Regions from separate parts of the Homo sapiens genome. Here all the other regions are linked to region 1. The links are contacts of gene promoters, found by promoter capture Hi-C in blood cells and fetal thymus (Javierre and others, 2016). All regions are on one chromosome and are shown on one strand. The core of a region is centred on a gene start or on the middle of the fragment in contact, and the rest is flanking DNA. Distances in the headings are between cores, read along the strand shown.

Region 1 (3,839 bases), core at 123-2,622:
AGCACTAGGATTGGGGTGGGGTGGCAAGACAGGGTATCGAGATGCCTGGGTTTGCCCTTCCCCTCAGGCTGGATGACTTGCTGGTGGGGGCACCCCTGCTCATGGATCGGACCCCTGACGGGCGGCCTCAGGAGGTGGGCAGGGTCTACGTCTACCTGCAGCACCCAGCCGGCATAGAGCCCACGCCCACCCTTACCCTCACTGGCCATGATGAGTTTGGCCGATTTGGCAGCTCCTTGACCCCCCTGGGGGACCTGGACCAGGATGGCTACAATGGTGAGTACCATGGGCTCAGAGAGTGAAAGAGGAGGCAGGGGCCCAAGTCAGAAGGGATTTGGGGAGAGGGCATCTGTCAGCTAAGATACCCAGACCTCCACGACTTCCCGAGGGGTTAAAATCCCACTGTCTGGGTCTTGGGATTTGAAGATTAGAATATAGGGACTGACAGATGGGAAAAAATAGGATCCTAGGTCCTGGGGTCTGGTAGTAGAGATTAGAGCCCATGGATTCCTGGCCTGCTGACTAGTGTGTGTTCTGTGTCTTCCAGATGTGGCCATCGGGGCTCCCTTTGGTGGGGAGACCCAGCAGGGAGTAGTGTTTGTATTTCCTGGGGGCCCAGGAGGGCTGGGCTCTAAGCCTTCCCAGGTTCTGCAGCCCCTGTGGGCAGCCAGCCACACCCCAGACTTCTTTGGCTCTGCCCTTCGAGGAGGCCGAGACCTGGATGGCAATGGATATCCTGGTGAGTTGTGCCTGAGGCCCCTTTTCACCTTAAAATTCCCTGGTCACTGACCCCTACTCTCTCTTCTGCACCTTTCCTTAAGTTCCTGGGTGCAGTTCTGGCTAATTCCAACAGAGGGCGCTGTCTTCTCACTTCAACCTCCCTGAGCGTTGAAACCAGGAGGGGTTAGGAAGAAAGGATCCTGATCTGGGGCTTGCTGTAAGAGGTGATTTCTTGACTTCTTACAGATCTGATTGTGGGGTCCTTTGGTGTGGACAAGGCTGTGGTATACAGGTATGAGCTCCAAAGGGAGATGAGGGGACAACCTGGGTGGACTGGAACTGGAAATTTCTCAACAGAGCTGAGGTTGGGAAAATCAATGCAGAGGACACACATTCTGGCGCTTGGGCATCAGTTTCCTGTGTCCAGGTTACAGAGGAGTCCTAATTCTATTGACCCCACATTCACTCTTGGCAGGGGCCGCCCCATCGTGTCCGCTAGTGCCTCCCTCACCATCTTCCCCGCCATGTTCAACCCAGAGGAGCGGAGCTGCAGCTTAGAGGGGAACCCTGTGGCCTGGTGAGCTGGTGCCCAGGAAATTGCAGAGACCTGAGCCTGGGAGTGGGCAGGGGCACCAAGTCTGCCTTAAAAAGGGGAAAATGGTGGTGTCCTAGTCTGGGTCTGGCTGGGAGATAGGTAGAGGATAGGATGTCTGTTCCAGTTGGATTCACCAGCTTTCTTCTTGGTCTCTCTCCAGCATCAACCTTAGCTTCTGCCTCAATGCTTCTGGAAAACACGTTGCTGACTCCATTGGTGAGGGAGACTGCCTGGATCTCTCAGGCCCTAGGACAGAGAATGAAGGGACTGGGGACCTGGGGACATTTCTTCTCTCTGAAAAGATGAGGAAAGACAGGCAGTTTCCCTTTATATGTCCCTGGCTTCAGGTTTCACAGTGGAACTTCAGCTGGACTGGCAGAAGCAGAAGGGAGGGGTACGGCGGGCACTGTTCCTGGCCTCCAGGCAGGCAACCCTGACCCAGACCCTGCTCATCCAGAATGGGGCTCGAGAGGATTGCAGAGAGATGAAGATCTACCTCAGGGTATGGCCCAGAGGGCGGGGTGTGGACTGGCCAGGGAGGGTGGCCACACAGAACTGAGGGCACCTCCTGAAGGGAAAAAGACTGGGGGACTCCAGTGAAGGGCTTGGGACTCTTGTAGGGGCTGAGAAAGGGAGACCTTCTGTCAGAGGAGCTGGGAAGCAGGCTGCCAGGGCCTCTGAAACAATGAGGATGGTCGGAATTGGGCCCTAAGCAGACAAAGGGAGATGAGAGAGGCTGAGGAGCAGGGCCACTAAGTCTCCAGAGTCCCCTGACTCCGTGAACTCTCTCCTCTGGCCCCAGAACGAGTCAGAATTTCGAGACAAACTCTCGCCGATTCACATCGCTCTCAACTTCTCCTTGGACCCCCAAGCCCCAGTGGACAGCCACGGCCTCAGGCCAGCCCTACATTATCAGAGCAAGAGCCGGATAGAGGACAAGGTGAGGACAGGGCAGGGAGAAGGGACCTGGGAAGACAGAGGCCTGGGTATTGGGGGGGCAGGGCCATGGAAAGAGAAGAGCCTACAGCCCAGGAATGGGTCTAAACTTCCCCTCTCAAGGCTGCCCTGCTCCCCAGGCTCAGATCTTGCTGGACTGTGGAGAAGACAACATCTGTGTGCCTGACCTGCAGCTGGAAGTGTTTGGGTAAGTAGGGCTGACGGTAAGCTAGGGAGCTCCAGGTGCACCTGGCACCTGAAAAAATCAGCTAGGGACATACTAGCTGTGTCGCCTTGGGAAGTTGCTGAGCTGCTCTGAGCTTTAACTCCTTTGTCTGTATAGTGGGAATAGTAGCATTTATTTCTCAGACTTTTTGGAAAGATTAAATGAAATAATCTACATAAAAAATCTAGCCTAGTGCCTGCCATAGAGTTAGAACTCAGTAAGCAGTGTCTATTGTTACTTTATTATTACTCTTTTTTTTTTTTTGAGACGGAGTCATGCCCTTGTCACCCAGGCTGGAGTGCAGTGGCGCAATCTCGGCTCACTGCAACCTCCGCCTCCCAGGTTCAAGCGATTCTCTGCCTCAGCGTCCCAAGTAGCTGGGATTACAGGTGCCTGCCACCATGCCGGGCTAATTTTTTTATTATTATTTTTAGTAGAGACAGGGTTTCATCATCTTGGCCAGGCTTGTCTTGAACTCCTGACCTCGTGATCCACCCGCCTCAGCCTCCCAAAGTGCTGGGATTACAGGTGTGAGCCACCACACCCGGCCTCGTATTACTACTCTTATAATGGTCCTTTGTCCTGGTTTGAGGATTAATTCACCAATGTCCCTTACCCTCTGTGTCCCTTCCAGGGAGCAGAACCATGTGTACCTGGGTGACAAGAATGCCCTGAACCTCACTTTCCATGCCCAGAATGTGGGTGAGGGTGGCGCCTATGAGGCTGAGCTTCGGGTCACCGCCCCTCCAGAGGCTGAGTACTCAGGACTCGTCAGACACCCAGGGGTGAGATGAGACTCTCGAGTGGGATTTGGGAGGATACCCCTCTAGAGGGGACACCAAAACCTGACCAGTGCCCACCCCATCTCCAGAACTTCTCCAGCCTGAGCTGTGACTACTTTGCCGTGAACCAGAGCCGCCTGCTGGTGTGTGACCTGGGCAACCCCATGAAGGCAGGAGCCAGTGTAAGTTTGGGATGAAAGAGGATGGGACAGAGGGAGAGCAGACCTGAGGGCGGTAACCAGCCAGCCGAGAGCACAGCTGTGAGGTGCGGAGGGAGGGTGAAATACACAGTCTAACTGCCCTCTTTTCCTCTTTTTCTGTCCCCAGCTGTGGGGTGGCCTTCGGTTTACAGTCCCTCATCTCCGGGACACTAAGAAAACCATCCAGTTTGACTTCCAGATCCTCAGGTAGGGAGTGAGTGTGTCTAGGCTGGGGCTGAGCTGGGGACGGAAGGGAGGGCTGGGCGCCATTCTCACTGGCTGCACTCCAGCACCTCAGTCTTGCCTCCATCCCACAGCAAGAATCTCAACAACTCGCAAAGCGACGTGGTTTCCTTTCGGCTCTCCGTGGAGGCTCAGGC
Region 2 (3,839 bases), core at 654-3,153, 94 kb before region 1:
ATCTCAAAATGCTCAAGACTTAAAGCTCTACAACAACCTGAAGCCCTGTGGTTGAGCCTTGGAAAACTATTAATAAAAAAAGACTACTCCATCCCCTGCCAAGTTTGAAGAGAGGCATCAAAAGAGGAGAATTTCAGCCATTCAAGCAGAGAATTATTCAGAGAAAGGAGAGAAGGACCAAGTTCTCACCGTGCTGTTTCGGACATCTATGTTGGGAAATTTCTTGTTGATATACTTGAGAGATGGTTCCATGGACTTTTCCAGTAAGAAAGGTGGCTTAGATTTGGGGTCTGAACAAGTCTGCAGAGAGAAACCATATATATTTCAACCCTTTCTCCTCCTCCTCAGAAACATACCTCTTCTTGCAACATTCATTCTCATAATCTGTCTTAGGAAAAGGCAACCTGGGAACTAATTTAAAAAGCATGAGAGGCTGGGCGCAGCGGCTCACACCTGTAATCCCAGCACTTCGGGAGGCCGAGGCAGGCAGATCACAAGGTCAGAAGTTCGAGACCAGCCTGGCCAACATGGTGAAACCCCGTCTCTACTAAAAATACAAAAATTAGCTGGGCATGGTGGTGCACAACTGTAGTCCCAGGTACTTGGGAGGCTGAGGCAGGAGAATCGCTTGAACCCGGGAGGCGGAGGTTGCAGTGAGCCAAGATCGTGCCACTGCACTCCAGCCTGGGCGACAGAGCGAGACTCCGAAAATAAATAAATAAATAAATAAATAAATAAATATAAAAATAAAAAGCATAAGAGTAGGTCAAGAAAAAATTCCAAGACATTAAGCCAAGTATCTAAGAGCGAAATAACAACCTAGGCATTTTGTCTTGATGGGTAGAGTTTAATGCCTGCTTGGCCCCAGCACAAAGAGGAAGCTGTTTCCCCGCCCCTCAACTGAAGCCGGAAGGAACAAGAAAAGCAGCTGCTCAGGAGTTAGACTTTGTACAAGATTCAGTGTCACAATTTTGTTCACTATGTAAGTATCTTATCCCAAAGGGCATTTACAGGATTCATGGTGACAGAGAAACCGTGTTCCTGGTGATTTGTTTTATTACAAAAAACACAAAAGCTCCCTCCCCCAAAGTCCCCTATTTTCTATGCCAGGAACTCCCCATAAACACCCCTGTCTTTATCTCTTTACTTCCTATGGTTTGCCCAGCCCCTAGCCCACCTCTTGTCACTAGCTTCTTTCAATTCCTCAGTTCCTATTCTAAACACACACACACACACACACACACACACACACACAACCACCACAGCATGAACTACCCCAGGAGCAGCTCAGAAGACACCTACCCTTTTTAATCTAAATACCTAATTATCTATTTTTTTTCCTTTTAGGGAAGCACTTCCACAGAAAAGTTTTTGCCAGAGACCCAGCTTCAGATCTCTTCAGAGTGTAGAGGATCAACAATAAATAATAAAACCCAGAAGGTTGGACCCCAGACCTTTATCCAAGTCACTTGGAATACCACTGTTGTTTCCCCATCCCCACCCTCACCCCCATCCCCAGAGGAAAGCAGATGCCATCGTTGGGGCAAGAATCATATCTAGAAAGGGGAAGCCTTGAAAAGAAGCCTCCACTTCTGCCTTCCTGAACTGGCTGGCCTGTATAATCTGAGTGATTATGTAGATTATAGTCAGTGGAAAAGCAGTGGAAAAAAAGGTGGGAGTCTAACTGCTGCACCTGCCGCCTCAGGGTTCCCTGCCCTATTATTGTTGGAATAATCAGTACTAGTCCCATTGTTCATGCTTACCTTCTTGATGTTATACATACGGATGAGAACCCCCTGACCGCGATCATTCAGGATAGTGAGCTTCTCTGCTAATTTATGCTGGTAAGCAGATGTCAAAGACATGATGGCCACTGAGAGAGGAGCACCAGACAGCAATGTCTGATCTCCCCAAACACTTTCAGCTTAGATGGTGACACCCTCTGGCGGAGGGACCCAGCCTGGTTGGTGCACTGGTCTTCTGTTGCCTCTGCAATTGGCTCATGGGTGAAATCAGTCATTATGGCTCACAGGCCCTCAGAGCCTTCTTGTGCTTCCTCTTGCACACTCAGCAGGGGAGACTTCCTCTTTCTGGCTGTGCAGCACTTTTGGTAAGGCTATGAAGTGGGTGGAGCTGAGGAGAAGGACAGGCTTTCAAGGCTCTTCACAGACTGCACCAACCTTTTTGGTCTTATGCCCCCATAAGTGTCCTAGACAAAGCTGGGCGTGGTGGCTCACACCTGTAATCCCAGCACTTTGGGAGGAAAAGGTGGGAAGATCCATTGAGCTCAGGAGTTCCAGACCAGCCTGGGCAACATAGCAAGACCCCATCTCTATAAAAAATAAAAATTAAAAGCTGTAAGCTAGATAAACAAGTATCTACCACCCCACCCCTGTACACCTCTATATTTTCCTTCTTTTATATCCAAGAATGCCTATGAACCTTTGGCCTCATCATGTTTTAGTACCCAGATCAAATCCCATCTTCTCCTAAAGACCCCATCAATGTCAAATATTATATTGTATTATATTTTATATTGTCAAATACATATATTCCTTGTTATATGTTTATAGTGTACGTTGTATCTCCCCCAACTACAGCATAAGCTCCTTAATGACAGGAATTGTACCTAATACTTTTTTTTCTTTTTTTTTTTTTTTTTGAAACAGAGTTCCACTCTTGTTGCCCAGGCTGGAGTGCAATGGCATGATCTCTGCTCACTACAACCTCCACCTCCTGGGCTCAAGCAATTCTCCAGCCTCAGCCTCTGGAGTAGCTGTGGTTACAGGTGCCCACCACCACGCCTTGCTAATTTTTGTATTTTTAGTAGACATGGGGTTTCACCGTGTTGGCCAGGCTGCTCTCGAACTCCTGACCTCAGGTGATTTACCCGCCACAGCCTCCCAAAGTACTGGAATTACAGGCATGAGCCACCACACCCGGCCTCTAATACTTTTTTATATTTCTCACAATGCTCTACTACAGTGCATTGTACTTCTACAGTACATAATAATTCTCAAAGTAGTTCTCAAGAAGTACATAGTAATTCTCAAAATGTGATCCAGCAGCATCAGCATCACCTGGAAACTTGTTAGAGATGCAAATTCTTAGGACCCGCCCCAGACCACTGAATCCAAAATTCTGGGGTGGGTCCAGGCACTCTGTGTTTTAACAAACCCTCCAGGTGATTCCAATGCACACTCAAGTTTGAGAACCAGTGCTCTAGTACCATGGTATTTATGGATGCTTGAGAAACAGATCAATCCCTGTCCTCTGAGATTAGCATTGGTAGGTAGGCGAGTCTGTTGTGGGGCCTAGAAGTCTGTACTTATATAAGCACTGTTGTAGGAGGTTTTGGTACAAATATTCCATTCTGAAAAACACTGATCTAGAACAATACCTCTTGGACACAGTAGTCACTCAATAAATATGCTGGTTTATTTGTTGAATTATTAAGACTAAATTAGGAAATAGGCCCCATGAAGAAGAACCAAATTAATCAAGATTAAAAAGAGGAAATTAGTAATCACCCTTAAATCTTAGAGACTTGAATGAATTTTAGCATTAAAATATTCTTGCCATTCCAATGAGGCCTTAACTCCGTAACTCAAGAAAATTTTCAACTCTATTTCAACTTTCTTTCAAGACACAAAGCAAAAGGTCCTAGGAAAAATTATAAATCAAAAAGAGTTCTCTTCATTTCCACCACCTTGCCAATTCCTTTTCTCAGGTTTTTAATCATTCCCATTTTCCGTATCCAGAGTTCCCATTGTCCCAATAAATTCTAGGGAGTGGGAGAAGAGAGACAAGGCTGATCAGCATTATTACTTAAGAAGTTG
Region 3 (3,839 bases), core at 771-3,270, 70 kb before region 1:
AAATAACTATGCCTGGCTCTTTCACATTAATTGGTGTGGGATGGGAAGTTGGCATGGTATGTCTTAAAAGCTCCCCTGATGATTCTAAGGTGTAGACAAGATTAAGAACCACTAGCCTACAATGGCTTGAGCCTGGCTTCCATCAACACTTGGTTCTTTTTAGTGTCTTAATCTGAACTGATGGCTGTGGAGCAAACTCTCTTCTAGTAGGAAAAAAAGGTCGGGGGGAGGGGGTGCGGAGGGAGTAACAACAATAAACGCTCACAAATTAATCATGTAAAACGAAAACATCCCTTGCCCGGCGCAGTGGATCACACCTGTAATCTCAGCACTTTGGGAGGCCGAGGCAGGCAGATCACCTGAGGTCAGGAGTTTGAGACCAGCCTGGCCAACATGGTGAAACCCCCGTCTCTACTTAAAAAAAAAAAAAAAAAAGCTGGGTGTGGTAGTGCCTGCCTGTAGTTCCAGCTTCTCAGGAGGCTGAGGCAGGAGAATCACTTGAACCCAGGAGGCGGAGGTTGCAGTGAGCCGAGATCATGCCACTGCTCTCCTGCATGGGCGACAGAGCGAGACTCCATCTCAAAAAAAAAAAAGAAGAAAAAGAAAATGCCCCACTGATCCTTTTTACTAAAGCTACATTCAGTTTTTGTCAGGGTAGTCCTCTCAAGTCCTATTTGGGCTCTACACCACTGAAATGCTGTAGAAATCCCAATATTTCACTGCCCAGACTAATCACCCAGACTGCCTCCTACATCTTGAACAGCACAGAATGTTTTGTCATATCTTTTACTTCTTGGTTTTGAAAAATATTACCACCAGATCTACTTGTAGTGTCAACACCTTCCTTTTTTTGTCTAACCTTCAAAGGCTACAAGTCCCTTTTCTCTATAATGCCTTCCCAGGTCATTTCAGGCCCCATTAATTTTTTTCCTTACAGGAATTTACAGTCTCTACCACTTTTTTTGGCATTTTTTGTACTGCTATTAAACCTTTCATCCACTTTGGGAGTCGTTTTTCTAAGCACTCTGGGGACAAGAACTGCAGCTTACACTTTTTTTCCCCAGAACAAAGCCTCACACTACGTTTGGTTTTCCCTTAACAAGTTGTAACCTTCCGGCCTTCTTGTCCTCTCCAACTCTTCATTGAGCTCTCTCCCCAACTCTAAAACTCGCTTTCATCAGGCAGCAACAACCATCATCCTACCAAGCATTCTCAGATAGTTAGTGCCTTTTGAATTTTGGGATTTTACAACACATTCTAAACAAGAACAGCCAGACACAAAATTCCTGTCCTTGGTGATTGTTTTGTGGCTGCACTGCGTATCTCCTTTATAATTCCTCTTCTCTTCCCTCAAAATCTAAATTACCTTTCTATCTAGACAACTTCCACAAACAAGGCTTCTTTCTAGGCAGCTCCCCACCTCTAACCAGTTCCATCAGTCCCATTCCCTCAGGCGCCATTTTTTTTTTTTTTTTTTTTTTTTTCCTGAGACGGAGTCTCACTCTGCCGCCCAGGCTGGAGTGCAGTGGTGCAATCTCGGCTCACTGCAGCCTCCGCCTCCCGGGTTCAAGCAATTCTCCTGCCTCAGCCTCCCAAGTAGCTGGGATTACAGGCGCCCGCCACCACACCCAGCTAATTTTTGTATTTTTAGTAGAGACGAGGTTTCACCATGTTGGCCAGGCTGGTCTTGAACTCCTGAGGTAATCGCAGGTGCCCATTTCTAAGTGCTCATCTGCCTTTTCTAAGATGGCCGCCACAAAACCCAGGGAAAGAAATGCGAGTTCTACCCTCTCAAGGCCACTGTTGTTCTGGGGGCCAGGGGAGGATGGCCCCAAAGATGGGGTGCCCAAGGAGGAGATCCTCGTGGGAAAGGGTCATCAGGGAGCTGACCCTAGGGGCTCACAGGTGAACTCCACAGCTGATCCACCCTGCCCCACACTCAGCCAGAACCGAGACTCCCAGTCACAGGAAGTGCCGGCCCCTCGCCCCACCTCCCAACGTTAGGCGCCGGAAGTGGCCGTTGCTGGGGCTTGCGTGGGAGGAAGGTGACTGTGAGGAAGGTGTGTGTCCACCGAGGTAAGGAAAGGCACCCCGGGGCGCCTCTAAGCAATTCCTATTTTGCGTACCGGGATACCTTCACCTTCTAATATCCTCATTTCGCTTTTCTGCTGGTAGCCTTCAGCCTTGTGGGCTCTCAATGCAGCTATTTTGGCTACCAACCTGTTTCGCTGCATTGCCCACTCGAGGGCCTCCTTGGCGCCTTTTCTATGTTTTTTTTAAGTTAACCACCTCCCCCACTTTCTCTTATTTAGTCTCATTGATTAAGTCTACTGTGATTTTGTTGTTGTTGTTGTTGTTTAAAGGAAGAAAAATGATTCTTTTACTAAGGCCGGAATTCTGTTAAGCGTTTAACCAGTAGCCGCCGACTACATCCATACCCTAAACTTGATTGCTTCCGGCGTAGCTTGTCTATTTCACCGTGATCTAGTAGTAGGGAAAAGGTAAAGAATCCCGTTAACAGTTTGATGCGGAAGATACTTAAAACAGACACGGCTAAGTGATGGTACTGTGAATTCCAGTGCCCCTAGTGTACTGTAATTCGTCCTTTTGTCCGGGAAGAATAGGTTGGCTTCCTACAAGCTGCTGAATCTGGTGCTCATCACTTAAAATCAAGAAACATACTTGGTTCTTCCTTCCAAAACTCTTATTTTTAATGAAAAAGTATGAAGTAACTATGTATAAGTGAAATATATACAAAAAGACGGTGGGGATTTCTTGATCCAAACATAAATATGAAAAATATTTTTAAGACAAATTCACTAATGATTGTCATTAACAAATGGGCTCAGTAGCAAAAAAACTAGAGTTCTAGCTGATCACTTGTATTTCCTATCATAGGTTCTAACGCTGCTTATGTCACAGAATGGGGGGAGGGGTGGTGAGGAGTGTAGAATTGTGTGAGGGGCCAAAGGAGAGCATGCTCTAGAGACAGACAATTTTCAGAAGTTTCGTATGGGGATGGTTTTATATAAATTCAGGTTTTTCCCACAATAATAAATGTATTTAGTCTCAGTGCTCAATAGAAGAGATTTCTAATAGAAAAGGATTCAAACTGTGAAACCATTTCTCTTTTAATGTTTCACATTCCTGTTACAGATTTGTTCTCTTGTGACTCTGTTATCCATAATATGGACAGTTCTTGAGTCCTAACATTGAGAGGTTTTCCCTTAGTGCATAGAGGGAATGAGTATTAATTGGAGAAGCTTAAAGTATTGCCACTTTAGCACTGAAGATTGGGATGAGAGGAGGTGAAACCTCACTAGAAAAAGGGACAATGTTAGTGTGGCCCTTCCTGATCATGTTTAAGAAAAGTCATGAAAATGGTGAACTAGTGTTTCCAAGCATATTGGAAGGGTTGAGTGTATACTGTCTGTCAAAGACTTCCAGCATTTCCAGGTCCTAGAGAGGAACAAGACTGGTAACCTGCCTATCTGTATTTTTAAGAACCCAGGAGGAAAGCTTTATAATAGAACATTATTTCTGTGTTTATGTATAAGGGGTTTTTTGTTTTTTTAAAGACAGGATCTCACTCCATTGTCCAGGCCAAGTGCAATGGCACGAACCTCATAGCTCCTGGACTTAAGTGATCTGCCTGCCTTTGCCTCCTGAGTAGCTGGGACTACAGGCATGAGCCCCCATGCCTGGCTAAGTTTGTTTTTTTGTTTGTTTGTTTGTTTGTTTTTGGGGGGGGGTTGTTTTGTTTTTTGTAGAGACGTAGTCTTGCTTTGTTGCCAGGCTAGTCTCAAACTCCTGGCTTCAAGTGATCCTCCTGCCTCAGC

The links. Contacts are between HindIII fragments. The CHiCAGO score rates a contact against its expected background, and 5 or more counts as called.
Region 2: a contact is called between the fragment with the promoter of NCKAP1L here and a fragment that was not itself captured in region 1, in 2 of 17 cell types (M2 macrophages and M1 macrophages). The highest score is 7.4, in M2 macrophages.
Region 3: a contact is called between the fragment with the promoter of GTSF1 here and a fragment that was not itself captured in region 1, in 1 of 17 cell types (M2 macrophages). The highest score is 6.8, in M2 macrophages.

Annotation. Positions count from the first base shown.
Region 1 is chr12:54,401,603-54,405,441 of GRCh38, reverse strand. ITGA5 (integrin subunit alpha 5) reads left to right here. Exons shown (of 30, transcript NM_002205.5): 12 at 68-276; 13 at 548-739; 14 at 967-1,012; 15 at 1,196-1,297; 16 at 1,476-1,531; 17 at 1,663-1,817; 18 at 2,118-2,255; 19 at 2,392-2,459; 20 at 3,112-3,262; 21 at 3,349-3,441; 22 at 3,587-3,666; 23 at 3,777-3,839. All of the region lies in intron 1 of GPR84-AS1 (GPR84, ZNF385A, ITGA5 and GTSF1 antisense RNA 1), which reads right to left. Among named protein-coding and RNA genes, the nearest start is that of ITGA5, 16 kb to the left of the region's middle. The HindIII fragment of the contact is 8,596 bases long and covers 1-3,839 here.
Region 2 is chr12:54,495,816-54,499,654 of GRCh38, reverse strand. NCKAP1L (NCK associated protein 1 like) reads right to left here and starts at 1,903. Exons shown (of 31, transcript NM_005337.5): 1 at 1,764-1,903; 2 at 190-300. The coding sequence starts at 1,865. RefSeq lists enhancers at 1,712-1,771, 1,882-1,941. The HindIII fragment of the contact is 9,210 bases long and covers 1-3,839 here.
Region 3 is chr12:54,471,783-54,475,621 of GRCh38, reverse strand. It overlaps GTSF1 (gametocyte specific factor 1), which reads left to right and starts at 2,020. Exons shown (of 9, transcript NM_144594.3): 1 at 2,020-2,076. RefSeq lists enhancers at 1,692-1,751, 1,417-1,943. The HindIII fragment of the contact is 3,434 bases long and covers 1-3,265 here.